Regions from separate parts of the Homo sapiens genome. Here all the other regions are linked to region 6. Evidence: promoter capture Hi-C in 16 types of primary human blood cells and fetal thymus (Javierre and others, 2016). All regions are on one chromosome and are shown on one strand. Each heading gives the region's core, a stretch centred on a gene start or on the middle of the fragment in contact. The rest is flanking DNA. Distances are from core to core; before and after follow the strand shown. Region 1 overlaps ARL15 (ARF like GTPase 15). Region 2 holds the start of LINC01033 (long intergenic non-protein coding RNA 1033). Region 3 overlaps ARL15 (ARF like GTPase 15). Region 4 overlaps ARL15 (ARF like GTPase 15). Region 5 overlaps ARL15 (ARF like GTPase 15). Region 6 holds the start of NDUFS4 (NADH:ubiquinone oxidoreductase subunit S4). Region 7 overlaps ARL15 (ARF like GTPase 15).

Evidence for each region. Contacts are between HindIII fragments. The CHiCAGO score rates a contact against its expected background, and 5 or more counts as called.
Region 1: a fragment that was not itself captured here is called in contact with the fragment with the promoter of NDUFS4 in region 6 in 1 of 17 cell types (erythroblasts); the score reaches 5.1 in erythroblasts.
Region 2: a contact is called between a fragment that was not itself captured here and the fragment with the promoter of NDUFS4 in region 6, in 1 of 17 cell types (erythroblasts). The highest score is 6.8, in erythroblasts.
Region 3: a fragment that was not itself captured here is called in contact with the fragment with the promoter of NDUFS4 in region 6 in 5 of 17 cell types (endothelial precursors, M2 macrophages, naive B cells and 2 more); the score reaches 7.9 in endothelial precursors.
Region 4: a fragment that was not itself captured here is called in contact with the fragment with the promoter of NDUFS4 in region 6 in 8 of 17 cell types (erythroblasts, M2 macrophages, M0 macrophages and 5 more); the score reaches 11.8 in erythroblasts.
Region 5: a fragment that was not itself captured here is called in contact with the fragment with the promoter of NDUFS4 in region 6 in 2 of 17 cell types (endothelial precursors and total CD4 T cells); the score reaches 5.7 in endothelial precursors.
Region 7: a contact is called between a fragment that was not itself captured here and the fragment with the promoter of NDUFS4 in region 6, in 7 of 17 cell types (megakaryocytes, endothelial precursors, naive B cells and 4 more). The highest score is 9.2, in megakaryocytes.

What each region holds. Positions count from the first base shown.
Region 1 is chr5:54,249,285-54,251,984 of GRCh38, forward strand. The region is part of intron 1 of ARL15 (ARF like GTPase 15); the gene reads right to left. Among named protein-coding and RNA genes, the nearest start is that of ARL15, 60 kb to the right of the region's middle. The HindIII fragment of the contact is 1,094 bases long and covers 808-1,901 here.
Region 2 is chr5:54,320,407-54,323,106 of GRCh38, forward strand. It overlaps LINC01033 (long intergenic non-protein coding RNA 1033), which reads left to right and starts at 538. Exons shown (of 5, transcript NR_126379.1): 1 at 538-592. The HindIII fragment of the contact is 582 bases long and covers 1,027-1,608 here.
Region 3 is chr5:54,192,939-54,195,638 of GRCh38, forward strand. All of the region lies in intron 1 of ARL15 (ARF like GTPase 15), which reads right to left. Among named protein-coding and RNA genes, the nearest start is that of ARL15, 120 kb to the right of the region's middle. The HindIII fragment of the contact is 889 bases long and covers 951-1,839 here.
Region 4 is chr5:54,210,200-54,212,899 of GRCh38, forward strand. The region is part of intron 1 of ARL15 (ARF like GTPase 15); the gene reads right to left. Among named protein-coding and RNA genes, the nearest start is that of ARL15, 99 kb to the right of the region's middle. The HindIII fragment of the contact is 5,856 bases long and covers 1-2,700 here.
Region 5 is chr5:54,174,293-54,176,992 of GRCh38, forward strand. All of the region lies in intron 1 of ARL15 (ARF like GTPase 15), which reads right to left. Among named protein-coding and RNA genes, the nearest start is that of ARL15, 130 kb to the right of the region's middle. The HindIII fragment of the contact is 1,712 bases long and covers 439-2,150 here.
Region 6 is chr5:53,559,303-53,562,002 of GRCh38, forward strand. It overlaps NDUFS4 (NADH:ubiquinone oxidoreductase subunit S4), which reads left to right and starts at 1,337. Exons shown (of 5, transcript NM_002495.4): 1 at 1,337-1,458. The coding sequence starts at 1,361. RefSeq lists an enhancer at 1,239-1,738. The HindIII fragment of the contact is 3,063 bases long and covers 1-1,485 here.
Region 7 is chr5:54,232,538-54,235,237 of GRCh38, forward strand. The region is part of intron 1 of ARL15 (ARF like GTPase 15); the gene reads right to left. Among named protein-coding and RNA genes, the nearest start is that of ARL15, 77 kb to the right of the region's middle. The HindIII fragment of the contact is 1,062 bases long and covers 888-1,949 here.

The DNA.
Region 1 (2,700 bases), core at 105-2,604, 690 kb after region 6:
AAAAAGTGGAGGTAGAACTTTCTATGTACATCTCTTTTAGAAAGTCCATCAGTAAAGAGAAGGAAGAGTCAAATGTGCAATGGCAGGGAAATAGAGCAGAGAAGGTATTTTTCAGAATAGAAGATACTTGAGTCAACGAAGAAGGAAAGACAGAAGAAGATATAAGAGGAAGTGAAGATAACAGAGAAAAAAGTTCAGAAGGGAACGGGAAGAGTAGAGGTAACCAATTAACCTTGGGAATAAGGAAGGAGAGAGATAGGTAACAATATACAGAAACACTTGAAGGAGAGTAAAAGTGCAAGAATTCCCATCTCTAGTTTCTAAGTGAAGGAGTTCATGAGGTCATATCTGAGAGTAAGAAAGGAGAAGTGTGGTTGTGGTTAAGAGCAAAAAAAAAAAAAAAAAAAACTTTAACAGCTGTAGGAGAAAAGAAGGAAATCAATCCCTAGTTGTCTGAGGAATACACAGAATTCCTAAGGCACGACAGAGGAGCCAGGAGAGCTTGTAAGTAATTAATCAGTATCAAAGCCAGCCAACAGGGCTATAGCAGTTTCTGTCACACAGCAATTGGCAGCCTGCCAGGAGAAAAACCGAGTTAGAGTGGCTGTGCCTGGGACTGCATCTCAAGGGTCCTGTGGAGAATATATTCAATGACTGGTCATAGGGTGTGTCAGACCATTTTTGCATTGCTATAAAGAAATATCTGAGTTTGGGTAATTTATAAGAAAAGAGGTTTAATTGGCTCACAGTTCTGCAGGCTGTACAGGAAGCATGGCACTGGCATCTGTTTCTGGTGAGGTCTCAGGAAGCTTACAATCATGGCAGAAGGCTAGCAGGGAGCAGGCCTGTCACATGGCAGGAGTGGGAGCAAGAGGTGGGGGTCGAGGGAGGCACCACACACCTTTAAACAACCAGATTTCCTGAGAGCTCACTATCATGAGGACAGCACCAAGAGGACAGCATCAAATCAACCATAAGAAATCCACCCCCACAATCCAACCACCCCTACCAGGCCCCACCTTCAACACGAGGAACCACACTTCAACATGAGACTTGGGGGGACAAACACCCAAACCATATCACAGGGCTTCTGGCTAAGCAGGGAAATAAAAGCAGCAGGTTTGGGTGAGGCTGACAGAATTGGAGAACAGGAAAGAGATCAGATTTTCAAAATCAGCATGATGATGAGAAGCAAGTTTAGTTAAAGTTGGAGAAGAAAATACCTGATTGTGCAGTCTCTGAAGTGGGAAGAACAAGGTTCAGTAAGTTCTGAGGAGTAGAAATGAAGGTCGCTAAGAGACGAAGGTCTGTGATTTTGGTGGTCTTGATGAGAGACATGATGGTGGAGAGAGGGAGAAGTACAGGGACATGGGTAGTAGGGACGGGACCAAAAAAAACACCAAGAGCTGGTGACAAAGGGCCATTGAAGATGGAGCAGAGTCCACAGGTCCTGGGGGCAGCCTGGAGGGAGAACCATGTTGGCTGTGAAACTAACTGGAAATCCCACATCTTCTGATCCCAGAACAACCCAGCTCTGGAGAGATCTAGACTTACAAGTAGGCACAGTGAAGGTCACTAGGGTCACCATTTTAGTCTACCTGAAACACAATTCACTCTCTGAAAGAAGTTATAAAAAGCAAGGTCCACCTCCTAACAGTGACAGGCTAACTTTATTTAACTAAATATAGTTTTACTATATTTAGTAATCTAACTTCAAATGCTTTCAATCAGATGCTATATTAAATTGAATCAGCCTATCTTCCTAATTATTAAGCATGGCTTGGAAAAGCTGAAGGAAACACAACACTGCTAATTTGCACAGAGGCTTAGAAAGTGATTCACTTGAAAGCCCCTCCCCTAATTCAGGTAAGAAGGAAGAAGATAAGTAAACAATGATGTAAAGCTTTAATTACTGGCTCACACTTTTTATGATAAAACACACACTGCAAAATTCTAAGGTGGCCAAACAACTCTTAAGCATGCTTTGAACTTTAGTGCAAAGAAAGAGATACGTCTGTAGGCTTTTGACAAACATCTAGGTATTTTCATTTAATTTTCCCACTCTTGTTTGTTGAGTATGTTTTTCCACAAGCAGAATTAAATTAAGGAAAGCCAGGCTTTTTAAAAAGTAATTGAATATTAGCATTAGTCAACAGCAACAGTTTGTAATATGGTATTTCCACTGCAGCACCTAGGGATGGCAGAAAACGGAGGCTGCTGATAAACTGTACTGGCATCTTATCTGTACCCTTACTAGATTTCTAAAGTTTATTTAAATGGTTATTCTGTATCTGTGTCTCATAAAGGGATGTCATCAGAACTGCCACCTAAGGAGCTATTCCTAAAGACCTCAGACCTACTGATTCAGAATCTCCAAGAATAAGGATCCAACAAGTAGATTTTAACTTCTTCAGTGTCCACCACACTGTCCTGTTTAAGAACACCTGTAGTGTAATAAGGTAAGCATGAAGTGTCCCCAATTAAGAACACAATCAGCTTTAGAGCAGTGGTTCTCAGCCTTGTCTGCACAATAGAATCACCCTGGAGGACATTAAAAAATCCCAATGCTAGGCCACACCACAAACCAATTAGTACATCAGAATCCCTGGGGTAAGACCTAGATATTGGCCTTTTGCTGCCCATGGGATTCCCATAGTCAATCAAAGTTGACAACCAGTGAAGCAGAGGACCACGTCAAAC
Region 2 (2,700 bases), core at 68-2,567, 760 kb after region 6:
CCCTTAACCTACATAAAATGCCTTCTATACATGACTCTGCCTCTGAGCTCTCCTCTGTTTTATTGATCTGTTTATTCTGTGACAATACGGAACACATCAGTCTGTTTTTTTCTTTTCTCTCTAACCTGACCACAATTCCTTTTATGTATATTGGCTTCATTGTCAATACTGCAAGAAATAATTTTTGGAAGCAAAAGGCAAAGCATTGAGTTTCTAAGTTCAGGGTTCTCTTTGGCAGGAGACTGGAGGAGTCTGTGCGCACCCACACCAGTAACTGTGTTCCTTCCTGAATGCATTAATCGTGGCATACTACTGTTCTCCTTTTCTGCTCATTCCTTCAAATGTGCCTTTCCATTCAGTACTAGTCTGCAAAGCCTATAATGAAACAAAGGAGGAAATCCTTGTGATTTAATTTTGCTTTCAAAATAAATTATTTTAAAGTTTAATACTCCAGAAGCAGTTTAATTAATTAATTAATTAATTTCATTTTTTTATTTTTTGACACAGGGTCTCACTTCACCCAGGCTGGAATGCAGTGGTGTGATCACAGCTCACTATAGTCTCGATCTCCTGGGCCTCCCACATCAGCCTTGTAAGTAGCTGGGACCACATAATGTTTAAATTTTTTGTTAATACAGGATCTCACTATGTTGCCTAGGCTAGTCTCAAACTCCTGGCCTCAAGCGATCTTCCTGCCTCTGCTTCCCAAAGTGCTGGGATTATAGGCATGAGCCACCGTGCCTGGCCCAGAGACAGTTTACTTTTAAATCAATTGCTTAAACCTGACGTTACTCTTCTTAGAAAGAAAAGAGGGCATTTAAGAAAAAAAAAATTGCATAAGAATTAACTATTATCTTAATAATTAATTAACTAATGGGTTCATGAAAGACACTAACACATTCATGAGAGCCAAGCTTTTCCAATGCTTTCCCTGTCTCCTTGCCATGACCTTGAAGTCTTTGCCTGCATCTTGTGTTTAATGCCATGCCATGTAGACTGATTCATTGTAATGCTTTGTCCTTGAGAAGCTTTTCTTCAAATAGGAATCTCTAACATAATTGTGGTTTTTTATGTACCTGAGTAGTGTTGAATTCTCTGGGCAAATGAGAGCTAGAGAAGACAGTACTGTATGCTTGCTGCCAAAGTACATCAGTGAATGGACGTGTTCTGGACGTGCTTATTCCACCAAGGCCTCTCTTTATTCCCTTTGTGTGTGTGTATGTTCTGGTACACGTTATGGCTGACTGATGGTGTGCCTGTGGTACTATTAGACCTGCTGGAAGACATCAAGGAAGAACAGCATGCTAGATATTATACCATATCTTCCTACTTCTCAGGCTGCCTCCAAGGTAATAGTTCAGAGAACAGAAGCAATTTGGAATTGGTAGAAATCATTTTGGCATTACAAAGGGCATCATAATGTTACAGACTAAGAGGTTTGGCTAGTTTTCTTAATAGGAAATGAAAGAAGCAATGGACCAAGGCATGTGACTTCATGAGATTTCAAATGGTCTAAAGAGTAATGGCTAACTTACCACACCATAATCACATGCGGTGGCACAGCTATTTCATATAATTCTGATCCAGTTAGCTCAAGGGTTAAGATCAAGCTTTGTCAGAAGACAGAGCTAAATTTCAATCCCAGGTGCTTTATTAGCTGTGTGACCTTAAGAAGGATACTTAACCTCTGAAACTCAGTTATCTCATCTTTAAAATGGAAATTAAAAACAATATAGGTAATTTCTTCAAGGTTGTTGTAAGGATTAAAAACAAATATGGCCTGGTGAGGTGGCTCATGCCTGTAATCCCAACACTCTGGGAGGCCGAGGTGGGTGGATCACTTGAGGTCAGGAGTTCAAGACCAGCCTGGCCAACATGGTGAAACTCCATCTGTACTAAAAATGCAAAATTAGCTGGGCATGGTGGCTCACTTGTAATCCCAGTTACTTGGAAAGCTGAGGCAGGAGAATCGCTTGAACCTGGGAGGCAGAGGTTGCAGTGAACCAAGATTGCACCACTGCACTCCAGCCTGGGTGACAGAGCGAGACTCCATCTTAAAAAAAATAAATAAATAAAATACTTTTTAAAAAATAATAAAACAAAAACAAATATACTGAACACTGAAGTGCTGGCTATCCTATGTACTGAAAGCCTTGTTGGAGGAATTGTGTTTTTATAGACAGTGCCTTTGACTTAGTCTGGAGAAGTAGAAGAATCCTGCTTCCACCATTGACTTTTAAGGATCTCAGGAAAATTATTCCACTTTGGAGTTACAGTATCATCTTTAAAATGTTGATGAAATAAAGCAAAGTAAGCAAAAGGGAAAATTAAAGGGCAGCAGAGAGATGATGGCTTTGTTGATTCTTCTCTGCAGCATAACTCAGAATCAGAAGAAATGGTAAGATGGGCAATCCAGGAATAGTAAGCTGGCTTTGTGTGCCACTAAGCTCTATATTTTGTATTACCTATATGGAAGCCATAAGATGCATCCGTAGGAGACCCTCTGCTGCAACTAAAGTGAGTGATCAATCATTAAATTTCTCAAACGTTTCAACAGGCTGCTTGGTTCATTTGCCCACTTCCATTGATATAAACCATGCCTGCCCTCCAGGATGGTTGTATGGTAGCATTGTAATGTACAAGCTTTAGTTGTATGTTACGTAGTGGACACAACACTATGTCTCCATGTGACAGATGGCA
Region 3 (2,700 bases), core at 145-2,644, 630 kb after region 6:
AAGAGTATGTATGTAGGTCCAGTGACACTTTTCATTTGACATGTTTCACGTAGGACATTCCTTCCATTCCCATGGCTTCTACTATTTTGATGGCTTCTGAATCCCATATCTGCTTCAACGTCCTGCTCTGGAGAGCCAAACTAGAGTTTTTAAACTTCCTGTTAAACATCTCTATCTAGATCTCCCTTAAGTACTCTCAAACTAATAAAAATCCAATTTCAGTATCAATCCTACCACCCACAAAAGAAACTTGTTCCTTCTTTCTATATTTCCTATTTCAGTAAATTGCAGCATCATCCAATCCATCATCCAAAGCTTATCCTCAATCCTGTGTCTCTCACAATGTCCAAAATTGATACAAGTCTCTTACTTGTATTGATTTCACCTCTTAAATATTTCTGTAATACTCTAATCCAGGGGTCCTCAACCCCCAGGCAGTGAACCGGTACTGGTCCATGGCCTGTTCGGAACCAGGCCTCACAGCAGGAGGTAAGCAGCAGGTGAGCAAGGGAGCATTGTGGCTTGAGCTCTGCTTCCTATCAGATCAGCTACAGCATTAGATTCTCATAGAAGCGGGAACCCTACTGTGAACTGCACATGTGAAGGATCTAGGTTGCTTATGAGAATCTAATGCCTGATGATGTGAGGTGGAACAGCATCACCCTGAATCCATCCCCTCCACCCCAGTCGATAGAAAAACTGTCTTCCACAAAACTGGTCCCTGGCATCAAAAAGCTTGGGGACCTGTGCTCTAATCTATTCCTATTGTTTTACAATAAAGCCTTCATTTTTTTTTTTTTTTCCAGAACTGTAACTACTTCGACTTATGTACTCTGCCTAGCACATCATAGGTGCTCAATAAATATTTGTTGATTTCCTGAAATAGCTCACATGGCTCTGTTATAAATTGCTCAGATCTAGGTTTATAAAATTAATGCTTTCCCTTAAAAAGCTTGGTTGAATTTTTTTAAAAAACTGAATAATTGGGGGCTAGGATGATATTAAATAATTGGGGGCATGGATGATATTAAATACAGTTATTTAATAACTGTAAATAAAAACATACAAGTTCTGTTGGATGTGGGTGTCCCCTGGGAGACTATGGTAGTGAACACTAAAATCCTAATCGCCATGCATTGGAATTATTCCGACTATTACTTTCTTTAGTTCCTTCTTATCCACCCAGTCTTCTTTGAAAACATGTTTCCCCTTCATAATTTAGCTCTATATTGTCTAAAAGCTATAACTTCAATCAAAGAACTTAAGCATTTTTAAAGCCAACAAAATACATGACATCAATTATTATCAGAGGCATGGACCCACTGCGATGTTCATTTTGAACAAGACGAGATAAGTCATTCCTGGAAGAACATAGGCAAGGATAAAAGATGATTCAAGCCTAATATGCAAGGCTCCTCACCTCTCCATCATTTTTATGAGACCCACAACATAGTCTTAACCCCAATAACCTCCATACGGCCTCACCAAGAAAGGATAGAAAAGACCTCAGAAGTATTTTGGCCCTAAAACATTTTTGAATCAAGCTAGAGAAAGTTATGAAACTCAGTTGTCACACTTGACTTGCATCCAGAAACACAATTCAAATGAAGCATGTAGTCTAAATGGCTGATAGTTTTCAGCTGGCTGTACTTTCCAGCCACCTAATATGAAAAATCTAATCTCACCCTAATAAAAATCTTAGACCTGGCAAAAAAAGAAACATATAGCTTTGTGGTAACGTGAGGAGAGGAGGGAGGTAACAGAAATGGTAGAATGACCTCACAGGGTTTTGACTTTTAAACACTAATATTTATAGATTAAAAACTGTCTGAAAGGTTAAGCTTGGAAAGAATCTACTTCAGATACCTGATACAGCACAGGCACAAAATGAACCATGTTTGATCTAACTTGTACCAAGGGAGAATTTTACCTTTAGCTTTACCAACTTCCCAAGAGGACTTCTAGTCATGCTCCTTCAAATCCCAAAGGCCTGCGTAGTGAGGTATGCCACAAAGAGTAGGGTGTCTCAGTCCTCCTCTACTAGTAGATGGAAGTCACAAGGAGATATCTCGAGACATTCAGGATGTTTATTTACTCAGAAAGTAAATCTACATTCCTTTTGTCCAACAGGCAATATCATTCTTATTTCTCAAGGCCCAAGGTCCATAACTACTTCTCCCCACTTAAGGCTTACACTACATTCTGTACTCTCAAAATACTTAGTTAATGTTGCTAATGTACTATGTACTTCACTATGTACAAGCCAAATTAAGCCACCTGTGGTCAATATATACCTGGGCAGCAAGGCTCAAGATAGATCCTATATTCAGACATCATCAATGAAAATACAGAAAAAAATCAACCCAGACTTTACTGTATTTATCCTTTATTCATTAAGAAACATGCAAAAAGCTCAGGAGAATTTTAAAAGGTTACAAAACATGGTGATGGTTTAAATAGCTACTACAACAACTGAAGGCCCCACAGTCATTTCACAAACTAGAGAAGGAAATAATTTGCTCCTTCCACTAATCTGACAGTTGGCCCAACCTCTGATTTCAGGAGACCTTTTTTCTTTTATCTCTAGTCCACTTATAAGCACATATGAGGACACACACTTAATTTTTCTCTATTTTTTCTCATGTCTAAAGTAATACCTGTAATGAATAAGTTGATCAATCAGAAATGTGTAAAGGAAAA
Region 4 (2,700 bases), core at 62-2,561, 650 kb after region 6:
ACGTACCCACTTCAAAATATATTGTAAGATTCTGTGACACAGGCATCATTACCATAAAATCCTCCCAATCAAATTATAATTTTCTTTTTCATGAACTATATTTCTTAAGCAAGGCAAGAACATTTTATTAAAAATAATGCCTATTATCTATTTTATTTTACTATAATCCACTCACTTTCCAGCCAATTTGCTCCGAATATTCTCTTGGAAACTTGTACTTCAAGACAATGGCTTCACTCATTACGTTATTTCAACAAAATGATAAATGTATTGTGAAATATATTATATTTGATTATCAAGCTAAAGCATTGCAAATGGCCATCACAGAACCCAAATTCACCCATAACATTCTATCCCCCAGAATAGTCCTCTGACAACAAATGATAACTGTACATGACAAATCCTTTGAGGCATCTGGGCCTTAAAAATTAAAGGGCCATTCTGACTAAAGTATGTTGATTTTCCAAAGGAAGTTTTGTTGCAGTTGTTGCTGCTGTTGCTATTATTTGAATTGACTAATCCTCAAGTAGGTTCTAGCCACCCTGAAGAATATTTACAAATACAAATATATTAGAATTGAAAGAGACCTTATATGCCACATAGTTCAATCTCTTTTCCTTGAGATGCAAAACTGTGGCACAGAGAAGTTAATTCAGTTGACAAACAACTCATGGTTAATTCAGTCTCATAGAACCCAATCTAGTGCTTTTTCTGCAATAACACATTACAGAGTCTGCAAAACCAGCACAATTACTACCTGACACTGTCAGCAAACAAAATGAAAATACACATATTTTAATAAGTAGTTTTTGCTTATTTTTGCAGTCACACATAAGATGTTATATCTTTACACAAAACGAAACTAGGATTATTTTTATTGTTCAAAAGACAGACTGTCCAATTATAGCTATTACTGAACTAGAAATGTATTTTCAGTTTATCTTCCCAAATCAAGTTAGTGGTTTGTTTGGTATGCACAAAGTATTCCAAAATGTCACAGAGTGGGGGCTATTGCAGGGTTTTCTCCTGCTTCCACCAGACCACAAAGGGCAACAAGTTTGGAGGGGACAGGAAGGTTGGGAGCAGAATACAAGGAGCTGTAGAGCTGTTCTATCGGTTCAGGTTTTAAGATCCATGAATAGACCCTACTCACCGAGTGAAAGCCCTGACAATTTTATCTGAGCATTAGAAAATAATTCCTTGGGCAGTTAAAAGATTGGAATATCAAAGAGCTGACATTAGTTTTAGGCAGCGCTTAAATGAAACACTTTTTTTTTTTTTTTTTTTTGAGACAGAGTTTCACTTTTGTCACCCAGGCTGGAGTGCAGTGGTGCAATCTCAGCTCACGGCAACCTCTGCCTCCCAGGTTCAAGCGATTCTCCTGCCTCAGCCTCGCGAGTAGCTGGGAATACAGGTGCCCGCCACCATACCTGGCTAATTTTTTGTATTTTTAGTAGAGACAGGGTTTTGCCATGTTGGGCAGGCTGGTCTTGAACTCCTGACCTCAGGTGATCCGACCGCCTCAGTCTCCCAAAGTGCTGGGATTACAGGCACGAGCCACCGTGACCGGCCAAATGAAATACTTTTATACTCTTATCTTACTTTTAAAAAGAATATGATAATCAGAGAGTTCAGGAAGGAAATAAAGAGGAGTAGATAAAGTCCAAAATGAGGAATATGCTTATCTGGAGCACACCTACTTAACCAGAAAAGAGTAATTTGAGTAGGAAGAAATGCCAAGTCACTAATTTGTTTAAGGATCTTGGTTATTGGTTGATTCCATTAGGAATGTGTCTGGCTACAAGTAACAGAAAATTCATGTTAGGTGCTTTAAACGGCATCACCAAACCTAAAGGGCCAGAGAGTAAATATTTAAGACCTGCAGGCCATATAGTCTCCGTCACAATTACTCAACTCTGTCATAGCATGAAGGCAGCCACAGTCAATACGTGGCTGTGTTTCAGTAACACTTTACTTACAAAAATAGGCAATCAGCCAATGGGTCATAATTTGCCAACCAATGGTTTAACCAAAATGTCAATCCCTGGTTTAAACAAATGAGACTTAATTAAAAAGAAGCTGGCCTTTTTTGTAAGGTAGTAAGAAGGGCACATCAGCTCCAGATGTCACATTTCTGTTTAAGAAGAGGAAAAGGGAAAAGGAAGGTAGAAAAGGGAAAAGGCCACATCTGTCCCTTTTCACAGGAAAGCAAAAACTTTCCCCACAGAACCTCAAGCAGACCCCCTCCCCCATAAGATCACTAGTCAGAACCGAGCAACACAGCCACATCTAGTTGTAAGAGAAGCTGAGAAAACAGGGAACACAGGAGTCTAAGTGGCTTAGACCAATCATGGTTCATTCATTGCCTGGGGCTAGACACATTGCTGCCTCAGACCAGGGTATTTTAGCAAGAAGGATAAATGGCTATTGGGTGTACAATGAACAGTGTTTGTCCTGTTGGACTATTTTTTCTGTTTTCTCTATTGGCATAATCTGCTCAAAGAAAATATGCTTTCTTAGCTGTGAACTAATTAGTCAAATGGAGATTGAGAAAGATTAAGCATGTTTGGTGGTAGGGGTGGGGAACAAATAAGAGTGAATCTACTGTTAGCTACCTAAAAGTAGTGATTTAATGGGGGGGAGATGCAGAGTGAGAAATCTGAATAGCAGTCCTGCCAGCCCAGTTTTATGACCTTAGCC
Region 5 (2,700 bases), core at 45-2,544, 610 kb after region 6:
AAGAAAATACTGTCAAAATAAGAAACCGCTGACTTTTTCACTTCGCTTCAATGCCATTAGTTAGCCTAGTTCCCAAAAGAGTGGTTTTGGTGTACAGGATCAACTTTCTTGGTAAATTAGAGCTTCTTTTTGTCCTAAATTCACTTTTCCTCTGTTCTCAAGAGGTTCTGCCTGCTTCTGGTAAACAATTCTATGACCCATATTCTTCATGGGTTTATTCATGCTAATTGTATTTCCTCTCAGTCTTTTCAAGCCTGAGGAGTCCTACTTATTTCAGTCTGTCTTCATCCTATGAGATGTTCTTCTCTGATCTTCCTTTAGTTCCAGCACACCCTCTCCCACAAGATTAATGACCATAACTACTAACAGCATTCTAAACGCCAACACATCACTTCATGGATTCATATGAAGGCTGGCTGATACTGTCTGACTTTAACAAGCTTTTTTATAAAGTCTGTCTCCCAGACTCAGAATGAGAGTTTTTCTCAGAGATAGGTTTATTTGTGTATGTGTCTGTTCCCTCAAAGATGGCCATGGCTAGCAGCTGTTCAGACTTAGAAGTGGTCTTCCACATTCAATTAGGACAGACAACAAAACTAGTCACACAGTTTCTTTTACTGGGCTGCGTTGGTCTTGTTTGGGGTTCAAGGAGGAGAGATCCCATTCCTGCCCTAGAGGCCTTCATTCTCACTCAGCTCCTTGCCAGAATTCCTCTGGACTATCTCCTGGAGGAGGGCTGGCCTGACTACCCTGGCCCAAACTATCATAAACCTTAAATATCAAATGAAACTGTATGTGAATGATTGCTAGAGCATCCGGTTTAAATTATTCATGTCGTTATCACTCATATTTTTGCCAAACACTCCAGAATTTCATCTTCATGTTCTTTTTAAAATCCAGAGTAGAAAAACTTTGTAGCCAACTCCATTAATATCTATTTTACCTGTTTATTCTAGGTCACCTAAGCCACTTCTGACATAAAAGATGATTTTGCAATGATAGCAGTGATATTCTACTCCACTGTCTTTTCTCTTCTTTCTTTCTTTCTTTTTTTTTTTTCAGACAGAGTTTCACTCTTGTTGCCCGGGCTGGAGTGCAATGGCACAATCTCGGCTCACAGCAACCTCCACCTCCCGGGTTCAAGTGATTCTCGTGCCTCGGCTTCCTGAGTAGCTGGGATTACAGGTATGCGCCACCACACCCAGCTAATTTTTGTATTTTTAGTAGAGACGGGGTTTCACCATGTTGGCCAGGCTGGTCTTGAACTCTCGACTTCAGGTGATCCACTCACCTCAGCCTCCCAAAGTGCTGGGATTACAGGTGTGAGCCACCATGCCCAGCCTTCTCTTCTCTTTCTTTTTCTCTCTTTTTTTTTTTTTTAAGACAGTCTGTCTCTGTCACTCAGGCTGGAGTGCAGTGGTGCAATCTCCACTCACTGCAACCTCCAAATCCCAGGCTCAAGCAATCCTCCCACCTCAGCCTCCCGAGTAGCTGGGATTACAAGTGTGCACCACCACACCCAGCTAATTTTTGTATCTTTGTAGAGATGGGGTTTCACCATGTTGCTCAGGCTGGTCTCCATCTCCTGAGCTCAGGTGATCCACTCACCCCGGCTGCCCAAAGTGCTGAGATTACACACGTGAGCCACTGAGCCTGGTCTCTCTTCCCTTTTTATATTCTCACCAGTGATATCATCTCCAGTCCCATGGTTTCAATCATATAACCGAATGTCATAAGGACATCCAACATGACATCTCCCCCTCCGTCTCCCCAAGCTCTTTCTCTAAGTCCAGGCTCTATAGTTCCAGCTGTTCTATAAGAACCCAAACCAAAACTGAATAAAACAAAAGCCTCCCCACAAAACCACAGGCTGTGGAAATAAGGTTCTTTGGAACTTAATGGCTAGATTGATAGTTATTACAAGGCAAAATCTTTGACATAAATCACAGACTCTTAGAAATCAACATGTATTTGAACTGACTGAATAAATCATCCTATGGGTAACAGGAATAGTGTCAGATTTTGAGTCAACAAGATAAAACTTTCAACAGTATGCTACTTCCAATGGGGAAGGAATGGTCATGTTTTCTGAGTCAGTTCCTAAAAACTGTAAAGAGTTTTCATTTGTTTTTTGTTTTAAAACTTAATGAAGCTTTGGATCCTATAGTCAATTTACTTAAAATTACTCATTTTGGCCTCTAGACTATACTGTACCAAAGTTCATTGTGTGTGTCTCCTACAGCAGCTCTTGCATTGTTAAGAGTAAGCCCCTTTCACTGTTGTACAATGCGAAACACAATGCTGTCGGCAGTCCTGACAGCAAGCGGCAAACTCAGGCCTCATTCCCAGGCCAAACACTAAGGCATTGTGTAACTCTGTTCAAGCCTCATAAACCTATCCATGCTTCAGTTTCCCCACGATTAACCAGTAACATTTTAACACTCTCTGCCGCTTCCTTTCTTCAGGAGGATGTTATGAGGCCTGGGTGCAATACATCATGCTACTAAGAAAGGCGCCATACAGGTAAATAACTGCTCATTGCGATTTTCATTTTTCCAAGGTATCTTAAGTGACAGTTAGCTTCCTTAGACAAGGGCCTGGCCACCCAATATACAGCCCAGACTGTAGTACTTCCAACAGCCCACAGCAGCCTCCACATGCTCCATTCTATCCCAGTTCAGCCCAAGACACTAAACACAC
Region 6 (2,700 bases), core at 87-2,586:
GTCAAAATTATAAAAACAGAAACAGAGATCACTAGGGTTAGGAGGGCAGGTGTTACCAAAAAGGTTAGCACTAGGGAGATCTTTGTGAGGGTGGAATAGTTCTGTATCTTGATCATGGTGGTGGTTACACAAAATATGTAGTAGAATGACATAGGACTACACAAATACTTTATATCAATGCCAGTTTCCTGGCTTTGATACTGTACTAGAGTTATACGAGATGTAATCACTGGGGGAAACAGGTACACAAGACATCTGTACTATCTTTGCAACTTCATGTGAATCTATAACTATTTCAAAATGAAAAGTTTGAAAGAAAATTTTCTCTGAGGCATCTCTCCCTTGCCTTCCTTCATCTTGTGCATTTCTTTCCCTGAGTATGACTTTTTCTCTTTCTTTCTCCCTTTCCCTTATGTACTGGGTTTTCCTTTAACGGTCCATAATGCCAAACTATGTCATTCCCCATCCTCCTATTGTTCCTATTTATTTAATGAAGGTTATGTTTTCATGTGCTTAATTTTAAAAGCAGGAAAGTACTAACTCTTTAAACAAATTTCTTAAAAAACAAAACCCAAAACTAACCTGCTTTTTATTTTATATAATTCAGTTAGTCATTATTCTTTAAGGTCGGAAGTCCACAATACAAACATGTTTCCAACACTTGTATTGGAAGATAATTTTTGTTTTATATGCATGGAGCATTAATATCATTCTTCATGTCTATGGATTATGAACACACACACATTCAGGATTTACTGGGGAAACAGTGACATCAAATATTATGTTCTATTGATTCTTCATATAAATCTACATGTCAAAAAATAATCCTTTGCCAGATCACGTATCCAGATTTTTCGTTTGGAAAATACGAACATTACTACTACAGAATATCAAACTGAATACAGCCCTGTCCTGAGGGCTTGCAAAGTGAATCTGGCAATACTTTGGAAAAGTACTACTGCAGGTTCTCAAGGACCCAAAGAGCTCTCCAGCTTTTCCAGTGGGTTCAGCCCCAAATATCCTAATTTCTTCAATAAATTACGAGTTGCAGGTGTTTAAATATGCAAGTATATTTTGGTCTTTTCGTTATCATTGTAAAACACCAGTCCTAACAAGCAGTAAAGATTACACTTTATGGTGGTAATATTTACAGTTAATGCACTTCTGCATTTCTTCCCGCACATTTTTCTTCTTACTTATTTAAACTAAGCGTTTCCCCTCTTTTTTTAAGCCCCAGTATTAAAAAGAAAATAAAATCCCAAAGAATTTCGCAACATTGCGATTGCACTGGCTTGAGAACGAAGGAAGTTAGTCCCTTGCGGTGATCCGTCCTTTCATCCTGGCGTTTGCCTGCAGCAAGATGGCGGCGGTGTCAATGTCAGTGGTACTGAGGCAGACGTTGTGGCGGAGAAGGGCAGTGGCTGTAGCTGCCCTTTCCGTTTCCAGGGTTCCGACCAGGTAATAGAATTTTCACACTTTTCTTCAAGCTTCTTGGGTCCCTCCATTTTTGCGGAGTCTCTGCTGGCTGAGTTCCGGAGGAGGCCTCGGGGAAGGCGTCCTCTGTTGACCCTTTTCTCGGGAGAAGTCGGGCGGACTAGGGACTGTCTGCTATCAATGGGCGTTGGCCAGGCGAGTGAGGGCGTGAGTGCGAGGCCGGGGAGGAGGACCTGTGGTTTTCTGGAAGCTTTCGTATTCGGCTTGTCGCTGAGGGAGAGGGTCCGTGGAGGTTTTGCCTCCGGAGCTGCAAGCTGAACCTTAGCCCTCAGAGAAGGGGAGGAGTCTCACTGATTTCTGTTTCCACTTTCTGCATCCCTTCCATTTGTCACCTGTTTGCCCACCACTCCAGTCCTTACAGAAGGGTTAAATCACTGTATCCCTTCCATGGTTTTAAGTGGTTTTAATTTGGTTTCTGCATAGGAAGATTGTTTATTCATCAGTCTGCTTGGGAGGAAAACTTGTTTGGAATTCAGTGTTAGTAAAAATATCACTGCTAGTAATATTGGAAGGTAATTTTTAAAAGGCTGGTGGTAATGCCTGGAGGTTTTCTAGGGATTTTGTTAAAGCCTCACAATAATTCAGGGATTGAATTGAGTTGTTGAGGGCTCTTTGCGTCCTTGAGAACCTAAAGTAGTACTTTTCCAAAGTATTGTCAGATTCAGTTGTCAGTTGATTGAGTTGTTACTGTTTTTCCTTGAAGCATTTTTGTGATGATTTTTTTTTTTTTGGCTGTATTAACCTTCCATTTTCTATTTTTCAGAATTTCCTGGAGTTTTTTAAATTATAGTACTAATGCTATACGTACATACACACACATATTAGAACAAAGATTGGAAAGACTGGATGGAGAGATTTGAAGGGGGTAGGAGGTGGATGCAAGTGGTTAAAAGTTGAAAGGAAGGTCTAGTAGAATGCTAATTGATTTAGTGTTAAATATAAATGGAATGCAGAGAATTAGGATGAGTTAATTCGGAAGAATTTTTAAGGATGAGTTTTATTAAGGTTTAAATATAGTGGGTGTTGGGTGGGAAAGAAGAGAGTGTCCCGTAGGGTCCGTGGCTTATGAAAAGGCTTGAAAGCATTAGTTAAACGATTACTAAATACATAGAATAGAGTCACTCAAAAGTAAGGGTGCTAAGATTGGGGAAAGGCAAATGATGTTTGTAATTAAGTGTTCCATATATGGAAAGTATTTTTCCTTTT
Region 7 (2,700 bases), core at 169-2,668, 670 kb after region 6:
AAAGCAGAGCCTTATGCTGCATTTGGGGGTAAAAATAGAACCAACAGGTAGAAATATGGGAGAAACAGGGCAGAGTGGGAAGGGCAGGGGTGCTTAATTAAAGACGCATGCCCACCTACCAGGAAAGCCACAAAATTGCTTCTCAGAACTTGTGTTCAGGGACCTCTCCGGTCTGCTCTGCCTTCAAGACACATTCTTTTCTCCTCTGATTTCCTCTATTCCCACAAGAGCCATCAATTGGAGTCTACCCTCAGCCCCTTGTTCGGCTGACACTCATGTTCACCCCTGCCCTCATACACCATCCTTGTTTGCAATGGCTTCACAACACCCAGTTCTATGCTTCTCCTAGTCCAGCCGTTTTCAATGTGTGCATGGACTCCTGAGGGTCCCCAAGACCCTTTCAGAGGATCTGCAGGATCAAAACTAATGTCATCATACTAAGACATTATTTACCTCTTGCATTGTGTTTGCATTAACATTGATGGAGAGAGTGAGTGAGTGAAACTGCTGGCCCTTTAGCACAAATCATGCTGGTGGCACCAAACTCTACCAGCTGCCATTGTGTTTTACATAAAAATGGCCTTGATGAAGCAGTAAACTATCAATTTTATTAAATCTTGACACGTTACTATTCTGTGTGATGAAATACATACAAAACATTTCTGCTCTATGTAAAAGTCTAAGGGTTGTCTCAAGGAAAAGTACTCGTGAACCTAACTAACTTCTCTTTTCATGGAACACCATTTTTACTTGAAAAAATGACTTACAGGCAAACTATAATTATTCGAACTTGGGTATTTCACAGATATTTTCTTAAAAATAAATGAAGTGGGCATGTCAATTCAAGGAAAACAACTGTTAGTATTTGTTGCCAGTGATAAAATTCAAGCTTTCAAATGAAAATTAAATTCTTAGAAAACTTGTATCTGCCATCATGAACTTGACATATTTACAAGACTGATATTGTGTTAACATTTGGAAGATTTACATAACTAGATGAACCAATATTTTCCAAGACCAATGTGTAATATTACAAAGTCATGCCTGAGCAAAAGAGTCTTTCAAGGTCCAAGAGAGACTACTGGCTTTTAACATAACTAACTAGAATAAGTTCACTGATATGGTTTCAGGTTCCACATGGCAACTAGCCCCTAAGGAACTACCATTTGATTGTTTAGATATAGAATCACAGAAGACTACTCACAATTATCAGAAAAGGCTATTAAAATATTCTTTTCCAACTTCATAGCTGCGTGGGGTTGAATTTTCTTCACATACTTTAACCAAAACACACAACAGATTAAATGCAGAGGCAAATATGAGACTCTAGCTGCCCTCTATTAACCCAGACATTAAAAAGATCTGCAAAGAGGTAAAACAATGCCATTTTCTCACTAATTTTTGTTTTGGAAAATATAGTTCTTTTTCATTTAAATGTTATTCATATTAACATGTAATGGGTTTATTTTTATTTATTTTTTGAGACAGTCTCGCTCTGTTGCCAGGCTGGTACAACGGCAAGATCTCAGCTCACTGCAACCTCTGCTTCCCTGATTCAAGCAATTGTCCTGCCTCAGCTTCCCAAGTAGCTGGGATTATAGGCGCGTGCCACCAAGCCCGGCTAATTTTTTTATTTTTGTAGAGATGGGGTTTCTCCATGTTGGCCAGGTCTCGAACTCCTGGCATCAGGTGATCCGCCCGTTTCAGCCTCCCAAAGTGCTGGGATTACAGGCTTGAGCCACCAGGCCTGGCCCGTTACTATTGTTATTTTTAAATGCATTAGTAAAAAAAAAAAAAATTTTAATTGCTAGAACATTAAATATCAATACCCACATTAATAAAAGCTATTTGGGAGCCTTAATAATTATCAATGGTGTAAAGGGGTCCTGAGACCAAAAAGTTTGACTTCACCAGGTGTTTGAACACTACAGATCCCATCTTGCCCATGAAGCTTCCCTAGACATCCCCACCCCACCGTGCTCCCTTCTGCATCCTACAATAGCATCCACTGGTAAGGCCACTATTTTAATAATGATATGGTTGCTTTATACTAATGAATTATGTTTTTGTACAACAGTCTCCTAGTGTCCATGTTTAAGAATTTAAGGGACTTTGCTTTCCAAAGCTGTTAACCCAACTAGCTCTGTGAAAGTGAAACAAAATTATGGACTTAAATTTCTGTCTGTGTCAAAAAAGAGTAAAATGCACCCTCTAGTGGACTTGTAAGCTCACAGAACACAAAATAAATTTATTGGATTGTCAGAAGAATTACAACTCCGTCCCAGAAAATTCAGATTATAAAATAATAATATATGAGCATAGGGAAATTAATTTTAATTTTTTGATAATATGTTTTTAAAAGAGCTAAGAAAATGTGAAACCAAATCTAGTTTGAATGTAGTTCATAACTAAATGCAAAAGTAAACCTGAGGTCACACACAAAAAACTTCTTTCTTAAATTCCTATGAATTGATTATACATCGGCTATCCAAAATAATCTGTTCAAATTATGTCTTATTAACTACTTATAACTTTAAATACATAGAAGCATTAACATGGATAAAGTTGGGATTATTATTAGTTCAATTTCCAAATATTAAAACTACACTCAACTTACAACCTGGGCATTCCAATGGCCTTCACAAAATCTGAAAAAGGACCTTTGAAGGATAAGAACCAATGCTTGGGGTATACTTTTAA